Regions from separate parts of the Homo sapiens genome. Here region 2 is linked to region 1. Evidence: promoter capture Hi-C in human tissues and cell types (Jung and others, 2019). All regions are on one chromosome and are shown on one strand. The core of a region is centred on a gene start or on the middle of the fragment in contact, and the rest is flanking DNA. Distances in the headings are between cores, read along the strand shown.

Region 1 (6,153 bases), core at 1,204-3,703:
GACCTTCTCCACAGTAACAACGCTGGAATATTTCTAGTCCATGAGAGCCTTTTCTCCTATGCTTGGTACACACTTGACCTTCTTTCAGGACAGGTTTACAGATCTTGGACCAGAAGTGTCTAGCACAACACAATCCTGAGGCACAGTCTGATGACCGGAGACAAACAGAACCTTCTTGTCCTACGAAGGAGAAGACAGTAGGAAAAAAGTACATAGTTACTGTTAAACCTGCATCGTTTCACTAAAATAATTCAAAAGACACTTCTGATGTGCTAAGAATGAGTCTTAACATCCTTACCTTTGGTGTGATACATTTTTGAAGACAAGGTGGTTCTTCTGGAATACCCATCCAAGGTGCTATGATCATTACCAAAGCTTTCAGTGATGGTTTCCTCAATTTCTCCTCGGAAATGATTTTGATCAGAAGACACACATATTCCTAAGGAAGCAGGAAATAGTGATTAACTTCAGGGTTGTAATGCATTACTGCTAACAGCTGTGACAGTGGCAGTCTGTTATGCCAGCATCAACTTGAGATACTTCATTGCAGTGACATCATTTTAAACACAAGCCAAACTTCCTCTTTACTGTTAATGCAAAACTCTCCAGATGGACAGAAGCACCAATGTGTATACTGTATACAGTCAGTCATAGGTAATATCCCCAGTATAGCCATTTAAAATACTTTCCCACCAACTGTGGTAGGGGCAAGTGAGATTTCTGCCCATTTTAATATTACCTTTGGGGTAAGAAAAAGAAACTCAGTCACTTTAAAAATGTTCTTAAAAATAACTTCTCTGCCCCTGGTGCTATATGGGTCCTACCAGACTAAGTTAAGCAAATGCAATTCCAGCTGCCTGGAACATTGCAATCTCACCGGCCAGTTACTTTACTGTGTAATTTCTATATTACAGAGATTTACTTAGTTCATCCTGGAGTACTGCTGGGTCCTAAGGAGGGTCGTCGCCCTGTTAGCTTATTTCTGGAGACCTCTTTAGCTGTCTAAATCCACCTTTTGAAAAATTAAAAGTTAGTGGATCTGTGGTTGGGGGGAGGAGTACTTATATTAAGGCAGCAGAGGGTAGAGGGAGGGGGAAGGATGGAGAAGTCAAGTTGTGAGGGTACCAAGATCTCTCTTAAAAATGGCCAATGCAGATAAATCAGTCCTCTGGCTGACAACAGTTTCAGCAAAAATCAGAAGGCGAGGCCAGTCTGGCAAAACTGTGAGAATCACAATAAGAAAAATGAAAAGGACAGCTGAACGCCAAAGCTGGTTTCTTTGATATCTGTATGATCCCATCGTCCTCCTCATCATCCCCCTTCTCAATTGACCTCAAGGTTCTCCCCAGACAAATTTTTATGGAAGAGTCCACTACGAGGTGAACCGTTGTATTGAATCATTGAGGGACACGGAGGAAGATAAGGACCTCAGAGACCTCCCAACTTCTCTCTTCTTCCCGATTAAACACTTGCAATGAAGATACTTCAGCGGAATCCTGCATGCTGAACACCCATTTGCAGGTGGCGCCGCAGTGTTCTCAGGGCGGAGATTTCTCCCCCCACCCCCCCCAACCCCCCGCCCCCGCCCAATTCATAGACGCTCAAAGGCTGGACAGTTTTAGTGTGAAAGGGAGCTTTCAGGACTCACCATTTTTGCAGTAATTCCCGGGGCAGCACATAGCGTGACGCATGCAGCGTTTTCGGCGCTTCCTGCAGGCGAGACAGATTTGCACGCCTGCGTCCCCTCCGCGGGTGGGACTAGCGCAGTACTCATCAGTGCCGCACTCCTCGTCCTCTGCGCACGGGTACGGCTGTGGGAAGGGTTCGGGGAGAGGGTGAGGCACCCAGACGTCCAGGTACCCGCCCTCTTGGACCCGGGCGCTGATCACAGTCCTTATCTGTCCACCTCTCCAAAACCTGTTACTGCCCACTGCTCCCAAATGCAGGGTTACCAAATGCTCCCTGAACCGCACACATTCAGCACGTTCTACTCCCTCGTCTCCAGATAGGACCCTTTCAAGGTCAGAGCATCCTCTGAGTGCCCGACCCCTCTCACCTGGTAGTTGTCAATGGTCTGGTACTTATTCCCGCCCGGGTACAGGATTCCCGGCGCGGCGCTGACTGCAGAGCCTGGGTGCCCCGCAGCGCCGCCCAGCGGTGGGGGCAGGTTCTTGATAGCGTTGGAATTGAGAACCGAGTTCAAGGTGGCGCTCACTCCCAGCAGAGGGTGGCCGCCGAGAGCCGCCGCTACCATCGCGACAAAGACCCGGGTAGCTCCCGCTGCGCCCAGAGCCATCATCTCAGAAGGACTCAAGAGGGAGAAAGAAAGAGAAAATGACCGTCACTTTGCAAGCCTGGGTCCCCACGAAACCGTGCCGGTTCGGCTGCAGAGTCAGGGTCCGGGAGCCCCCTGCGGTCCCAGAGTCCTGACTGCAGGGAGCACAGAGCTCTGCGCCGCCACCGCCACCGCGGCTGCCTTTATACCGCGGGCCCGGAGCATTCCGGCCCCTTGGGAGGGAGACAACAAAGCCGGGATGGGATTTCAAAGCGCTGGGAGGGGCTGGGAGGGGGTGTGTTTGTGTACATGAAGGGGGGCCTTTGACACTCTTCACCCCGCCCCTCCCTTGCTTAGTCGCTCGGCTGGCCCGGCTCACCTTCGGGGTGAAGGCTACCAGCGAGCGTTATAGCAGACGACTTTAATAAATGCAGGCGGCAGCAGGAACTCTGGGAACTTGGGTGCCCTTGCCTGGCAGTAAGGGTTGAATTATCCGGATCTGAAATACTTTACAGAGCCGAGGGGTGATAGGCTCTGCAAAAGCACTTTTTGCCCCTCTCCTTTATGCCAATACTCGCTGACTGTGCACACAAGTCATATTCAGTATTAAATACAAACCGGTCTGTAATTCAATGGCTCTAGCAAGACGCCTCTGAGAGGGCCAGGTGGCGGGTGCAAGTTGCTCATTAACCCTTTAGAGTCGCAGTTTGCAGATCTGAGTTAGATCCCCGGCTTTGAGGTCCTTCAGTTGCCCTCCTCCCCCACCTCCCCCCGCCACTGCGAGAAAAATGTGCAAAGAGAAGGAAATTTGCACATCAAACGAGGGTAAGAAGGAAGAAGAGCTAATTCTCTTTTGATGGGAAGTTTAGAGAGGGAGGCGAGAGACTGGCGTTTAGAAATTAGATCAGGGGTGGAGGGAAGAGGGAAATGACCATCCGATAATCAAACCATTTAATGTTGTTCTTTGAATCAGGGCAATCGCGGCGGTAGATGAACTTGATTAGGCAGACGCGTGAGATCAAAGTGGCCGGGACCAAAGCGGACAGGGTCCAACGTGCCAGGTCAGTCGCCTTTCCCCGGTTCTCCCTTCTCAGTGGTGGGCTAATGTGGAGAAATAAGAAACCCTTAGGGCTTAGCGCCTGACTTCCTCATTAGTATATCACATCGCAACGCTTCCGAATGCAGGGTTTGCTCCCAAGTCTTACCTTGCACGGGACCACGCAATACCCTTTCTAGGGAGAAAAGAAACAACCTTGAGGAGAAGAAGAGCTGAAAGTGAATTAGAAAGTGAATTTGACGTCATTGAAATTGGTGTGTGGATATAATAAAGTAAGGCTGGTGTATAAGAATGATGTCATGCTTATAAATGGGAAATGATCTATTTAATTCAACAAAAACTTATTGGAAGCCTAGAGCCCTGGCATTGGGCTGCCCTCTGGGTTGTTACCTTATTTTTATTTTTTAAATTTTTTGGTGAGATGGGTGGTGGGGGGAGGGGCACAGTGAATACAAATATTTATGAGACACAGCTCTCATTTTAAATAATAAAGTTCTCTTTATTCTAATTACAGTAATAATAAAAGATGTAGTAACAATAAAATTATAGCAATAAATATAAAAGCATACATAATTCTTTTAAAAACAGGTTGATATTATAAGTGTCAGAAAATAAGCAACTGTTTTGTGAGTTTGGAAAAGGGAGAGATGATTGAATAATCACTATTGAATTAAAAAAGAGTAAGATATATTTATTTTGTCTTCCTCTAAGCTGTATAGATTTAGGCTGTCTATAATGACTCCACATGCTGACCTACTATAGTCAGAACTGGGGCCACCACCAAGTAAAGCCAGTGACAATCTTAAAGTAAAAAAATCCTAAAGTTTACTGGGAGAAGGAGTAATTAAAACACAATTTACTATGGTCTGTGTTCTAGTTCCTTCAGTTTCAAAGGTAATATTAAGAAGATCATCTAAACAATTCTTGAATGGTACCCTAGTTATATTAGTGTCCTTCCCATCCCAAATTCCATCTGTCCAGGAAATTATCCTGTCAGGAATCAATGCGTTAAGCACCTTCAGTGTACTAGGAAATCTGCAAGCTGTGTTAAGTTTGAATGACTTTGAAACGTAGAGAAAAATCCGCCTGCCAATCAGAAGGTTGAAAATGTTTCTTTTTAGTCCTATTAACCTGTTTAAATATTTTGAATCTAGAAATATATTTGTGCCACACTAAAGGCCAATCTCTTGCCTTTTTTTCTGAAGAGATAGTATATGATTAATACATTTAATGAACTTGGTTCATTAAAAGCTTGGCTTCACAAAAAAAATCCATTGCCTGGGGCAAAAGAAGAGAAAGTGGAACAATTTAATCAACAAAAGGAAAATTCTGTTATAACAAAGAAGCTTGTTGCATAAATTCAACCTTGATCTCTGAACACATATCATTTGTCTATTATGTTTCAATATTCACTGAGTCTGGACAGAATCTGTGGTATTGAGCTAGGAGAGCTAAACCAAGCATAGAGTTTCAAGAATGGGCTAGCTTCTACCTCCTTCCTCAGCTTTCACATTGCTCCTGAAGTTGTCATGAGTTTAAAACTAATAATGAGTTGGTCAATATCTGAGTTCCTACTTTGTGCTAAGCATTATACATGATATTGTGTGATAAAAGATGAGTTCACATATAATCTACCTTCAAATCATTTAGTGGGCAGAGGAGAGGTAACCTCACAAATTATTCAGGGGAGAAATTACATGGGTGGTCCTCAGAGAGGGCTAAGTACATAGCAAATCAAACCTTTGTTCCAAATGAGGAAATTTATTTTTTCAGTACTTTTTCTCCATTTGAAAATCCTTTCCAGGATGTGGTTTGTTCATTGGCAACAAGAGTGCAAGGTAGATAAAGAGGTATAGTAAAACTCATTGTTCCATCAGCAGCCAGTTAATATTCGGTGAGTATCCATTATTGGGAGCATATCTCACAATATGAAAGGCAGGCTTCTTGTCCTCAGCTTTCAGTCTGTGACTAGTTGGGGAAATACAACATACTTACATGGGGCTGGGGGTAAAAATTTTTCCAACATCGATTATATTTTGGCAGATACTAGGTCATGGAGAGCAAGAAAAATGTGCAGGAACTGTGACCAACATGTCTTAGGAAGGAGAGAGGGTTCTGGTGATTGTCTGAGTCTCTCTTACAGCTGGGTGACAGAGGAGGTGGGAGCCAGAGTAGATGAATTTAGTTTATTAAACTGAGTTTATTTAGTCCTGTAGGGAACCCTGCCTCCTATTCAGTCTGGTATAAATATGATCATAATTAATGTAACAAATTTAATATTTTGTATTATATTTTTGAATAGGTGAAATATGCTTATCAGCGTGGAATTGAACCTCATAACTCGGGAACAGCATGCTAACACATGTCTTCTTTATATTTTAAGTGCTGGATGCCATGCATAGAATATTTCTCAACCTTTTCATCCATGAGGGAGACAGACAAATATACTCCAAAACACTCCATGCTATTCACCAACTATTTTTCCATCTCTATTATTTGTGACTGCTGATTTTTTTTATTTTATATATTTTTATATATTTTTTGAGACAGGATCTCATTCTGTCGCTCAGGCTGGAGCACAGTGGTGCAATCGTGGTTAACTGCAGCCTTGACCTCCCAGGCTCAAGCGGTTCTTCCACCTCACCCCCAAGTAGCTGGGACTACAGCTGCATGCCACCACACCTGGCTAATTTTTAATTTTTTTGTAGAAACAGGGTCTCACTATGTTGCTAGCCAGAGCTGGTCTTAAACTCTTAGGCTCAAGTGATCCTCCCACCTTGGCCTCCCAAAGTGCTGGGATTACAGGAGTGAGACACCGCGC
Region 2 (6,153 bases), core at 1,624-4,123, 1.3 Mb after region 1:
CTTCTCCATGCTCATATCCCAGGCACACCTACCTCCAAAGAATAAACCTTTATATGAAATTTCAGAATGGGTTTTTTAGCATTATCCTATGAAAGTAATACCTGTCATTCATCTGTTCAACAAATATACATTGAATACCCTTTACCAGCCAAGCAGTATACTTCAAACTAAGATTGAAATGGTAAAAATACATAGGGTCTCTTTTTTCATGGAGGATGTTGACTGATGAGGAGAAAAAGAGGAAAAAACAGAAAAACCTAATGACATAGGTAGGCTCTGTAGTAAGTTAAGCACACAATAGTATGGAAGCACATTGGCAGAGGCAAGGGGACAGCAAGGAGCATGTCAGTACTTAACTACAGTGATTTCAATACAAAGGCATAAAATGGGATACGATTGAAATGTTCAAGAATAAACATGGGATAACTTGTATCATATGTTTCAGAAGACTATGTAATTACCTGGACAAATATGAGTTAAATATTATTGAATTAAAAGTAGGCTACCAAAAGTAGTGTTTATGATTGTCTTTCTGAAAATAAATAAATAAATAAATAAATAAAGGTATGTACTCATGGATAAACAGTAGAAAGACATATAAGAGAATGTTAATGGTTATTGCTAGATAATAGGGTTATAGGTGATTTCAATTTTTTAAGCTTGTAGTTTTTTTAAGCTCCGTTGTTTCCAAATGATCCACAAGTGCATGTAATAAGTTTATAATTTAGTAAAGGTATATTTTTAACTAAAAGTATTTTTTAAAAAAGAATGTATCTGAGCAATTCACATATATCAGATGCCTACTGTGTATAAAGGATTGCGCTAGGTGCTGAGGCTACAGAGCTAAGTAAGGAGCGCTCTGTGTCCTTGAGCAGGTTATAGCACTGGAATGCAGGCATGCAGGAAATACCTGCCAGTCAGGTATCACCCAGGTGTTATGTTAATAAAGCCAGGTTATTGACCTATAACTGATTTTACCCTGACACTACAACCGAGACCACAAGACAATTTAATGCTGCCTTTGTTTCTTATGACCAACAAATTATGAAATGACAGAACGTTGAGAAAAATATGCTGCTGTCTCCTGCTCTAAGATCTATAGTTGTCGGGGGAGGAAACTTAATTTTGTTAGTTACAACGTGGATAATGAAAATTTATTCAGCATGTATTTCACATAATCATCAAATAACCCTATGAATTAAACAGCATTATTATTCCTGTTTGCAGATGTGGAACTGAGGCACAGAGCAGTCAAGGTTAAGATTGCATTGCTCATCCATAAGGGAGCCAAGATTTAAATGCAGGCATCTGAACCCAGAGCCCAAACCCCATGACCGTGTATACTTTGCTGTCTCCCTTTTACGACCGTTACCATCATCTCTGATCTTTTCCCAGAATATACGTATTTTGAGAATTCCAAATAAGAACAAACCATCACAAAGAGCTCATGTTACAGAAGATTGAGGGCAATAGCCTGAGGGCAAGGTTAATGTTCTCAGCACCTTAGCACAGGCCTGAGACATGTGAAGCCTCAATAAGTAATTTGCTAAATGAATGATCCAGAAAGCAGGTTCATTTTTGAAGCTTCCCACTCCCAATATCAGTCTTTTGTCCTACTGTTTTCTAACTTTTTCTAAAAATTAGGTACAGAATGGGGAAAGATTTAACTAATAGTTTCAATATATTTTTTTCTGAATTTTCTACAGCAATTTTACCGTAATTTTTAAGGCATATATATATATATATATATATATATATATATATATATAAATAACATATTATATATAATTTTGCTTATTTGATTGTTTAGGGCAAAAAAGTTGTGAATTCTAAGTATAAATTCCTCTATTTAGTGTATACAGCAATTAGAATATTTTTTGAGTTGGGATAAATTTAATTGGAGAATTATGACAAGTCAATTTTATGAATTTTGGACAAAACTAAATTGCCATTGAAAGACTGTAAAAATTAAGGTTTTTATGAAAAATAGACATGGATAATTTTATGTTTCTAGAAATGGCAGAATTGCTGACACACACTGTGAAGTGCATGATAATATTCTGTCTGTCTCACAGATTAATGGAAATTACCAACAAACTACTTATTATTCATTGCCTGAGGAATAAAGATATCAACTCACTTCCACTAGTTCCTGTCCTGATGCACTCTTCAACTACAGCTCAAAAACTGAGCAAGGATCACATTTTTAAACTCAGATGAAAAAGCAATTAAAGTATAGAGAAATACATTGTGAGTCTTAATCTCTAAGTTCATGAAGAGTGCTTGCCACCTAATAAAAATATTTAAAGCAAATTAATAACTGTAATGTCCAAATGTGATTTCTTACACGTTTCACTGATTAATAATTGTATCTCTTTTCTTCTATCTGAATTCTAATCATTTGAATTCTAATCATCTAGAGGCATCTCATTGTCTCTGGTGTGAGGCATGCTGTGGCCTACATAATATTCAAAGTGACTTAAAGAGAAAAGGAACCCTCAGAAGATTTAAATCTTAAAGGGACAACAGAGATAGTGAGAGGCATAAAAACAAATGAACAAACTTGAAATAAGAGCAAACACTGCAGGATATAATGCAATGGAATGCTGAAATACCATGAGTTGAGGGTATTTACTTTCTTTTTTCCTCCGTGTCCTCAATTAGCTTAGATTAAAAATGGCCTTTCTTCTGCAAACATAGCTCTCTGGATGACAGGTATTTTCCACAGTAATTTTCATCACTAATGCTTGGGAATCATACCTTTTAAGACATGTGATTTAAACATAACTCTTCACTCCGAAATGTGTCTAGAGGGCCGTGTGGTAGATACAACACATATTTATTGGATACATCCCATGTGTATAGCAGTGCCTAAATTGGCCAACCTAAATGTCATTATCCTGACATTAAGGGATGAAACTGATTCCTGTTATTCAAAGATAAGTATAAAACAAAGCAGTGTGGGAAAGGGTACATGTCCTATAGTGAGACTGACTTCAAATTGTGGCTCCATCACTTACGACTTACTAGCTGTGAGACACAGCATTTACCTTTCCTCTCCAACCTCAGTTTCCTTAGAAAGATAGATTAGGGTAATGGCTTGCCCAGTAAGCTTTCAATAAATGTCTTCTATTATTACTATTTTGAAGGGTGCCTATATCAGGAATGGAAATAAGGTGCCCTGTTGTGAGGACATGATGGGGTGGGCATTTCATACTTGAAGGAGGGAAGCACGTCCAAATGAAGATGTCCTATGAGTAACTGGACATAGGAGACTGAGGCTTAATAATCAGAACTGTAGTTATGTCTGGAGATAAGGGAATATAAGCTTTGAGAAGGATGAGCATTCTAAGACAGGGAATACAGAAAGTCATGGAAGTTAGGGGACAAGAAAAGAAGAAAAAAAGCAGAGTAGTTAGGGAAGTAATTAGAAACTGTAGTAGAAATAAGATACGTCGGCATAGAGAATGGATATCCCATTCTTCATGACATGATTATTTCACATTGCATACCTGTATCAAAACATCTCATGTACCCCCAAAATATATACATCTACTATATACCCACAATTTTTATTTTTAAAAATAAGAAATTAAAAAAAATTTCAATAAGAAAGCTTAGAATAAACACACATATGCACACATACACATACCCCAAAATAATATTTGTTTGTTTGTTTGTTTGAGACAGAGTCACCCCCCCACTGCATGTAGTGCAGTGTCGCAGTCTCAGCTCACTGCAACCTCTGCCTCCCGGGTTCAAGTGATTCTCCTGCCTCACCCTCCTGAGTAGTTGGGATTAGAAGCATGAGCCACCATTCCCAGCTAATTTTTGTATTTTTAGTAGAGACGGGGTTTTGCCATGTTGGCCAGGATGGTCTCGAACTCCTGACTTTAAGTGAACCACCTCCCTCAGCTTCCCAAAGTGCTGGGATTACAGGTGTGAGCCACCATGGCTGGCACCAAAATAATATTTGTATATTACATTGAACACATGCATTATCTTCATTGTCTGTGGAAATAAAATCTATTAAATTAAAGTTCAGAAGTTTAAAAAATCGACAAGGGCAAAAAAAAAAAGATGAAAGAGGAAATAATAATAGCAGATGAGAGTTGCCAAGAGACCTTTGGGGGTTAAAATTGGAGAAGTAGAGCTGAGACTGTCAATACTAAATACCAGCAGAGGGGTGGTGCCAATGAGCTGCAAGTCACAGATCCTCAGAGAGGCAGGAATTGGAGACAACAGGTACACATGATCCTGGCAGCCTGTTGTCTCTCTGCTGAGTTCCAAGGACACTGGCAGCTGCTTCAGGAGCCTGGAATGTTCTTCTCAGCACACACTGAACAGCTGGAAGATTTCCCAAGAAAACCTGCAGTTCCCCCCACTCAACTTCAGTGAAGCAGAACAATTTTAATGTTTTTCCTATACAGAGCATCCAACCAGCTTTGAGATAAATATGCTTCATATAAATGATATGCTATATTGCTCAATAGGCTTAACATTTCTTTAGGCTTTCTTGTTTAATTGAAAAAACACCTAAAATCACAGGTTCATTTCTTAGTTCAAGGTTTCACAGTGCATAATTTCTGCTTAACATAACTGGCATATTTCTATTCATATGATGAGATATATAATAAACTGTGATATGTTATAATCCTGCGTGAACAAGAAAAGAGCATGGGAAGGCATCAGGTGGACTTGCATTTTGACCACATACTGGTCTTGTGATCTTGGATAACTCATGTAACTTCTCTGAGCCTTAATTCTATCCATAAAATTGTGTCACAGTATTTACTTCATAGGGCTGATATGATAAAAACAAGATACTGCATGTATACAGTAAAGAGCAATATGCTTGATGCACACTGGCCACTCAATAAATACGTTTCCTTCTTCCTCATTCTTTCCCATTCACCTCCTGCCCTCTGCTCCAATCCTTGGGTCTAGATAATAAATAATATCTATTTAGAGACTCTTGGTTTAAGACCATTCTAAAGCATTTGTTGAGAAGCTGCCATCTCTTTGTCTTTCTGCTAGATTCTTTGGTCTATCGCCAAGGTCTATGAAAAGTGGCTTGTCCTCCAGAAAATTTAAATTTAGTTGAGAAAACCAACATTGTCACAAATTTAAGAGTTACAGCTTGACCTACTTTGCAAACAGGGTAAATATGCCTCTATATATGAAGGGCCTAGGAGATTAATGTTAATAACCTTTTATCCACCCTCTGTGAATTCCAATCTACCACCTAGAAATTTGTTAGACATAAGACTGAATTCTAAAGGGAAAATTTAGAAGATTCATCAATGAATACTTTTGAAAATGCAAATAGAGTCAAGATTGATCTTTTCCAGACAATATAATCTGTGAAGGTAGGAAAGCACTCAAGAAACTAGGTGACCTCTTGAGTCCTTTCTCCATAGGAATCTCTAACTAGTAAAAAAATTAAAATCAGTGAATCAAATGGGACCTTCTGAAACTGAGAGGTAGTTTTGTTAGTCCATTTTGTGTTGCCATAAAGGAATACCTGAGGCTGGGTAATTTATAAAGAAAAGAGGTTTAAATGGCTGATGGCTCTGCAGGCTGTACAAGAAGCATGGCACCAGCATCTGCTTCTGGTCAGGACTTCAGGAAGCTTTTAATCATGGTGGAAAGGCAAAGGGGAGCCGATGTATCACATGGTGAGAGAGGGGGGTTTTTCAGGCTCTTTAAACAACCCGCTCTGGCATGACCTAATAGAGCAAGAACTCATTACTGCAAGGATGGCACCAAGCCATTCATGAAGGATCCCCTCCCATGACCCAAACACCTCCCACTAAGCCCCACCTCCAAAATTGGGGATCACATTTCAACATGAGATCTGGAAGGGACAAATATCCAAACCATATCAGTAATCCATCTGAAAATTTTGCAAATATGTTTCTTTCTTTGGTTACAGAGAATGAGTTGCATCAGGAAGCACTTTCTATCAGAAAGAATTTAAGCAAATTCTAACAGACAAGTAGTCCTTTGGAAAAAAATCTGATTCTTTGATCAATTTCTTCTCTGATTTTATAATTCATTATAATTTATGTGATCCCTTAGTGTATCAGGCAAGTGAAAACGTGACAATGATTCACATATTTAGATATTTATAATTCTTTTAAATAATATAGT

The links. Contacts are between HindIII fragments. The study calls those that stand out against the background at their distance.
Region 2: a fragment that was not itself captured here is called in contact with the fragment with the promoter of DKK1 in region 1 in 1 of the 25 tissues and cell types used here (dorsolateral prefrontal cortex).

Annotation. Positions count from the first base shown.
Region 1 is chr10:52,310,581-52,316,733 of GRCh38, reverse strand. It overlaps DKK1 (dickkopf Wnt signaling pathway inhibitor 1), which reads right to left and starts at 2,453. Exons shown (of 4, transcript NM_012242.4): 1 at 2,057-2,453; 2 at 1,649-1,811; 3 at 299-439; 4 at 1-180. The coding sequence starts at 2,299. PRKG1-AS1 (PRKG1 antisense RNA 1) reads left to right here and starts at 2,606. Exons shown (of 6, transcript NR_038277.1): 1 at 2,606-3,100; 2 at 3,249-3,336. The HindIII fragment of the contact is 6,920 bases long and covers 1-6,153 here.
Region 2 is chr10:51,030,285-51,036,437 of GRCh38, reverse strand. It overlaps a transcript of PRKG1 not described here. Among named protein-coding and RNA genes, the nearest start is that of PRKG1, 41 kb to the left of the region's middle. The HindIII fragment of the contact is 3,502 bases long and covers 1,123-4,624 here.